Linked DNA regions of Homo sapiens: region 1 is linked to region 2. Evidence: promoter capture Hi-C in 16 types of primary human blood cells and fetal thymus (Javierre and others, 2016). All regions are on one chromosome and are shown on one strand. The core of a region is centred on a gene start or on the middle of the fragment in contact, and the rest is flanking DNA. Distances in the headings are between cores, read along the strand shown.

What was found. Contacts are between HindIII fragments. The CHiCAGO score rates a contact against its expected background, and 5 or more counts as called.
Region 1: a contact is called between a fragment that was not itself captured here and the fragment with the promoter of LGR6 in region 2, in 3 of 17 cell types (M0 macrophages, M1 macrophages and M2 macrophages). The highest score is 7.8, in M0 macrophages.

Annotation. Positions count from the first base shown.
Region 1 is chr1:202,672,891-202,676,135 of GRCh38, forward strand. All of the region lies in intron 1 of SYT2 (synaptotagmin 2), which reads right to left. Among named protein-coding and RNA genes, the nearest start is that of SYT2, 36 kb to the right of the region's middle. The HindIII fragment of the contact is 4,323 bases long and covers 1-3,245 here.
Region 2 is chr1:202,192,397-202,195,788 of GRCh38, forward strand. It overlaps LGR6 (leucine rich repeat containing G protein-coupled receptor 6), which reads left to right and starts at 1,403. Exons shown (of 18, transcript NM_001017403.2): 1 at 1,403-1,805. The coding sequence starts at 1,594. RefSeq lists enhancers at 1-792, 487-536. The HindIII fragment of the contact is 23,199 bases long and covers 1-3,392 here.

The DNA.
Region 1 (3,245 bases), core at 212-2,711, 480 kb after region 2:
CAAAAAATAAAAAGAAAGTCATGTCTAGACATATCACAGGAAAACTGCAGAAAACTAAAGAAAAAGTCTTAAAAATGTAGAGCCGAAATAACCAAACTAGCAGCTGGGAGGGCAGTACAGGCTCCAGCTGTCTCACAATATCCAAACGTTTGCTAGTGTGTAAACTAAATGAAAATATTTTTCATTTCTTGCCCAGAAATCTGGGCTTATGGATGGTGTTATAAGAAAATCTTGGAGATGGGAAACAAAAGAAAATAACATATTAGCCATCCTCCAAGTGTAGATGGTGGGCTTGGGTTTACTGAACATTTTAATAAATCATCTGAAAAGGGGAAAATGTCTGAACTATAAGTACTATTAAGTCTTCTAGAATAAACAGCAAGACCCTGTGTGGCAGGTCAGCTTCAGCGTTGGAACATGTAAGTTAAAAGGTACGTGAAAATGGACCCAACGATATAATAAAATCATGGGCCTGGACCCTCAGTTACATTGCAGGAAAGAATCAGTAATTCACATCTAAATCAGGCCCAAACAAACCAAAAATGTATCAATGTTCTGTGTCCATACTCTGAAAAGTTTGGAGTGAGTTTTGACTCAACAAGTACTTTTCCTCCCTGAATGGATCCAATGAGATGGATGTTTCTGTGTCACGAAGATCGATGCTCACCCACATCCTTAGGTCCCAACAGCTCCAGTTGAAGGGACACATTACCCAGGGAATGAGGCCATAGTTACCTTGGGGTGACCTCCAGGAAGACTTGCCCGCACACCCAGCTCCTTTCCTTGCCCTGGACAGCCCCAGCTGCCGGCACACCCCTTGCAGATTTACTACTCTGTTCCCATGGCTGTCTCCAGCCACCTCTAGTTTCTCAGCCTTTAATGCATTTTCTACATCTGTACAAGATTTATTCGAGGCAGGGAGATTTATTTAGCACATTTATGCTCAACAGAGAAGACAATTCCTCACAGAGTTCTGATCTCATTTGCCATTAGAAGCCTGAATGAGATTGCCTGGCTGATGGGCAGTGACAGTTGGCTGGTTCTGGGTAGGAGTGGATATGGGAACCTGCCGTTACATACATGTGATATTTGTGTGTAATACATGAAGGTCTATGTGGCAGGTTAATGTGTATTTTTTTTAATGTGTGAGTATTCTTGTGTGGGTATGTGTGTGAATTTCTGAACAATGGGAGAGCACAGGTATATTTATTTGTTTTATTTTATTTTTTGAGACAGAGTCTCACTCTGTCACCTGGGCTGGAGTGCGGTGGTGTGATCTTGTGTCGCTGCAACCTCCGCCTCCTGGGTTCAAGCAATTCTCGTGCCTCAGCCTCCTGAGTAGCTGGGATTACAGGCGTGTACCACCACGTGCAGCTAATTTTTGTATTTTTAGCAGAGGCAGGGTTTTGCCATATTGGCCAGGCTGGTCTCGAACTCCTGACCTCAGTTAATCCGCCCACCTCAGCTTCCCAAAGTGCTGGGATTACAGGCATGAGCCACCGCGCCTGGCCTAGGTGTTTTTAATTATGCATATACCCCAGTGTTAGCATGGTCCATCTGAGCATATGAACATCTGTGTGGAAGGATGTGAAAGTCTGTGTAATATGATGTGATATGTACACATGTGTGAATATAGAAATATGAGCTTTGATAAATGGCTGCAAGTACTTAGTGAGATTATGTGTGTTCAATCACTCATCCATATCTGTATAACTGATGGGAGTATGATCTGTTACCAGCCTAAGGATTCTTTTCAAATGGTAAACCAAATCATCTCTCCTCAGCTTAAAATTTTCCAAGGACTCCCATTGCACTTGGTATGAAACCCCTACTGTTTAATCTGACCTCAGCAGTCCAGGCCTCCCACTTCACTGGCCGCAGCTCTGCTCTCTCACCTTCACACACTGCTCTGGTCACACTGGCCTCCCACATGTCCCCTCCAGACACCCTCAGACTGGCCGGCCCCCTCCCCCACTGCCCAGCATGCTCTGCCCTGAGCACCACCCCAATAATCTCAATGTCATGATCTCAGCCTGCTTCGCCTCCTTCAGAGCACTTACTACCATCTGAAGTTATCTTGTTCAGAACTCACCTTGTTTATTGTCTGTCCATGCCTCCCAAGAAAATGCCAGGTGCTCAGAGAGGGCCATGGCTTTCTTGTTTATTACAGCATCCCCTGAACAGTGCTGGGTGCACAGGAGGGCCCAGTAGTTAACTGTTGAATGAGGACTGTGTATGTGTGACCATATGATGTCTGCATATGTGCACTAGGATGTCTACTAAGGAAAAATAAGATGTGGTGAATACTGAGCACGTTGGGCACATGAATGAGTCTGTATGACCATATATTTAACGTGCAGTCATTCATTTAACAAATTACTTTCAAGTAAGTGTGTGCCAAACACACTAATAGGCCCTGCTCTCATTGAGCTTACAGTCTTGTGGGAGAGACACACACTAAATAATTATATATATAATTAATATATATTATAATAATTATATAATATATATACACAATTGAAAATTATGTGAAGACTATTAATGCAAAGCATAGACAGCCATGAAAGTATTTGACCAGGGACCACAGTTGAGTTGGGAGCTCAGCAAAGTCTTTCCCAAGGGGCTGGAGTCACTCTGAGATCTTCAGGGACTCAGGGAAAGGCTGGGCTTTTCTGTTTCTAACCCACATGTGGATATGTGCACTTGCAAATGTTATCACTAGAGGTCCTGGACACCGAGCAGGAAGAATCCCAGTCCTCAAGAATGGGACATACTCATTCACTGATACCCAAATGGATTTCTCACATGATCTGCTGGCTGGTTCCCTTCCACCTTACCCCATTTCCTCTAACCGGTCCAAGCAGCCAGGCTAATAATCCTGAAACAACACCTAGAGGACCAAATTAAAGCTCTCCAGCTTAGGGTCAAGCCACCTGTCATCTGACCCTAGCTTGAATAGTAATCATTCCTAACCTCTTTTGAGCATTTACCATGTGTTAGGTGCATTACACTGTGCTAAACACTTTGCATCTTTCCATTTAATCCTCACAGCCAGTTTAGGCAGGCGTTACTATGTCTATTTTACAGATGAGGAAACTGATAACTTGTCCTTCTAGTCATCTCACTAGTAATTGACAAGCCAGGTTCAATCCCAACCCAACTCACTTCAAAGGCCAGTCTCACTAAGGCCACCGCCTTTCCACCCCTGCAGCCAGTTGGATGTCTCACTGTTGCTCCAGCCCAGG
Region 2 (3,392 bases), core at 153-2,652:
AATCAGGCAGGGAGGTTGCAGTGAGCCGAGATGGCAGCAGTACAGTCCAGCTTCGGCTCGGCATCAGAGGGAGACCGTGGAAAGAGGGGAGAGGGAGAGGGAGAGCGAGAGCGGAGGCTCGTCTTCTACTTTCAGCGCCATGGCACCAACTGGAGGCCTAGGGTCAAGGTCTGCTCATTTCTTGGTCCAGCTATGCAGCCCCTCTAGCCCTGGGAGGTTATTGGGAGAGTGGAGAGGTGTTGATGAGAGGATCCTGGCATGTGGAAAGACAGGGTGGAAGAAATCCTGGATGCCTCTGAGGTCCCAGGTTTCTAGTATACCCTCTGGCTGGACCATGGGGAGATAGGGCAAAAAAAGGAAGGAGGGGGGCCCACAGCCTGCTCTAGCTCTGCGCGGGGGCTTGGCTCAGCATGGGAGAGACCAGAGAGAGCAAGAGGCTGCATGAAGGAAGCACAGCCAGCTCACTATGGTCTAAGGAGAGAACAGGGATTGACCTCAGTTTTAACCACCATGCCCTTTGCTCTCCAGGGCTCTGGGGCCGGCCCAGGTCAGCCACTTGGTGGGATTCCAGCCTCAGGGTGGCTGAGCTGCAGGTGCAGCACCCGGCCTCCAGGTGGCACCAATCCGCTTACTTTGAGGTGGGCTCTGACAACCAGCTGAGCTGCCCACAGTCCCTCAGACTCCCGAGGTCCTGGGAGCAGGGATCAAGGTGGTCCCCAGGCCGTAAACCTGACAGAGGCTGCAGGAGTGCATTTCCACCCAGGGTGCACTCAGCGGGTGTAACTCCACACCCGTTTCTTTGGAGTCAAGGCCCGGCCTCTCAGTGAGGAGACTGCTCCTGGTTGCCCACCGTCGGGTCATCCCAGCCTGCAGTGGAACCCTCCGCAGCCTGGCCTCTTCCAGGGTAGCCCCTCACTCCCCTCTCTCCTGTCCTAGCAGACAGGCCAGGGAGGGTGGACGAGTTCCAGCTCTGGGGATGTCCCATCAGCTGTGTCACCTTGAACAAATCATTTTGCCTCTTGGGTCTCAGTTTCCTGCAGTGTGAAACGTGGTGGAGGCATGAGGGGCAATGGGAGCCCCAAGGCCTCTTTCAGAGACCTCCTCTGGGTCCCATGTGACCTCGTGGCTGTCCCCAAAGGCAAGAGGGTCCCCAGCCCTGCGGCCAAGGCCCTGGGACACCCTATCCAAACAAATGCAGGTCTCTGACGGGCTGAGCTTTGCTCGCTTGGGTTTCTTTGCTTTCTTCCTTTTTTTTTTTTCTTTCCTGGATGAAATTCCTGCCAGCTCCGAAGGAAGGAGGGAAGAGGAGCGAGCCGCAGTGTAGAAAGTTTCCTTGACTCCTCCTCCGGCTGGGTCTCCCTCCCTTGCCAAGCCCAGCCTGTGAAACTGAATAACGAAGATCACTCAACAATGCCTGCCCCTCTCTGACTGCACCGTCCCGGCGCTCCCACCGCCGCCGCCGCCGCCCAATAGAGCCCCTGGGGCGGTCCCCACCGACGGTGCAGCCCGCCGGGACCGGGAGGAAGCAGCTGCGGCCATCGCGCCGTGCGTCCGCGCCCGGCCGCCAGGTGCCCCAGTAGCCCGACCGCCGAGATGCCCAGCCCGCCGGGGCTCCGGGCGCTATGGCTTTGCGCCGCGCTGTGCGCTTCCCGGAGGGCCGGCGGCGCCCCCCAGCCCGGCCCGGGGCCCACCGCCTGCCCGGCCCCCTGCCACTGCCAGGAGGACGGCATCATGCTGTCTGCCGACTGCTCTGAGCTCGGGCTGTCCGCCGTTCCGGGGGACCTGGACCCCCTGACGGCTTACCTGTGAGTACTGCCCGCCTGTCCCCGCCTGGTCCTGCGGGCTGCTGGCTAGCGCCCAGTCCCGGCCTCAGCAGGGCACCTGCTTGCTTGGTGCCCTGGGGCATGGGCATCCCGGAGAGGGTTTGCCCCCTTCCAAGTTGACCGTTGCGGGACTGGGGAGGGGAGAAGAGTCTGAGACTAAATACCAGGCGAGCAGGGAGACCGGGCTTCCCTGACTTGGCTTCCCCATTGGCCTCCGTGCTTGTGGGCTGACTATGGGAGCCCAGGCTTGGCGAGGTGGGTTCTGGACCCTGAGCGGGAGGGCGCGGGGCTGGCTGCTCCATCTCCTGTTGCTGCATTCTCTTCTAGCAGAGCAGTGCCCGGGATGGTGGCTGAGGGTAAAGCTGACAGAACTGGAGGTGGAGGTGAGGGGAGCGTGCCCCAGTAGGGTGGAAATAATGTCTGTTCTTCTGCCATGGTGAGGACAACAGGGCTGTCACACTGAGGCTGGGTGGCCTTCGTGGGGGCGGGGGGGGCGGGTTTCCTAGAAGCTGGGAGGGGGGCCTTATCCACTCTTGTCTCCTCAGAAAGGGACTCTGCCAGCACCATCTCCCTTCACTGGGGCCTCCTGGCTCCCCCAGGGGCCTCCCTAAAGTCATGTCCCAAGAGGCTGTGTTGGAGACACTAATTTGTGGGCAGGCGCCGAGGCTGAAAACCAGAGAACCATTTTTAGCGTCTGAGTTGGGGTGAGATGGCGCGTGAAGGGGACCCTACTGGGGGCAGCTGTCCTGTCTGTCTGGCTCATGGGAGCTTCCCCTCAGAGCTGGAGGGCTGGGGGCTCTGGCTGCTCACCACCTGGGCAGGAGGAGGGTGAGAGAGCACATTCCAGGCCACCCACCTGCACCCCCAGCCCCGCTCTGGGGCAAGGAAACCTCCTCCAGCCCAGCTCTGCAGGCTCTATCAACTTCCTCAGAGGAGCTGGGAGCAGGTGGGAAAGCCTGGTGGGGCCTTCTGCTGAGGGCTAGGATCCCAGAGTTCCTTCTGGCCTGAGAGAGGCTCCTTATGGCTTTGGGGTTCCAGCACATGGGAGCTTAGAGGAAGAGGAGGCTGGGTGAATCTTTATAGGGGCCTAGCAAGAATTTGTGGAACTAAAGATGCTCAGTGTTGGGAGTGTCCTGGTGGGAGGTAGAGGGTCCCAGAGGGCAACTCTTCATGGGGCTCCTCTCCAAATGTCCCTGTCCCCAGGTTGGGATGTCCCCCTCCACTCCAAAAGGCACAGGCTGTGGGCCAGGTAAGGGAGTGGGAAGAGAAAAATAATGTCCATCTAGAAGGACAAATGGAATCCTTCACAGTGCAGTAGGTGACGGCAGAGGCAATCATGGGAATAAAGGTACCAACTGCACAGAGCCTGGGCGCTCAGCATCTGGCAAAGCAGGGCAGGCTCCGGCCCCACCCTACACACAGGCCAGCCCCTCTTTCAGCAGTTTTCTATCCTGGGAGTATGTGACATTGGTTCATTTGAAGACAGGGTCCTGTGGCTAAAGAGTTTAGATGTGACTTCTGTGGAGCCTTTCTCTGGGTGAGCTGAAGGAAGGTCCCTTGCCTGGGTTG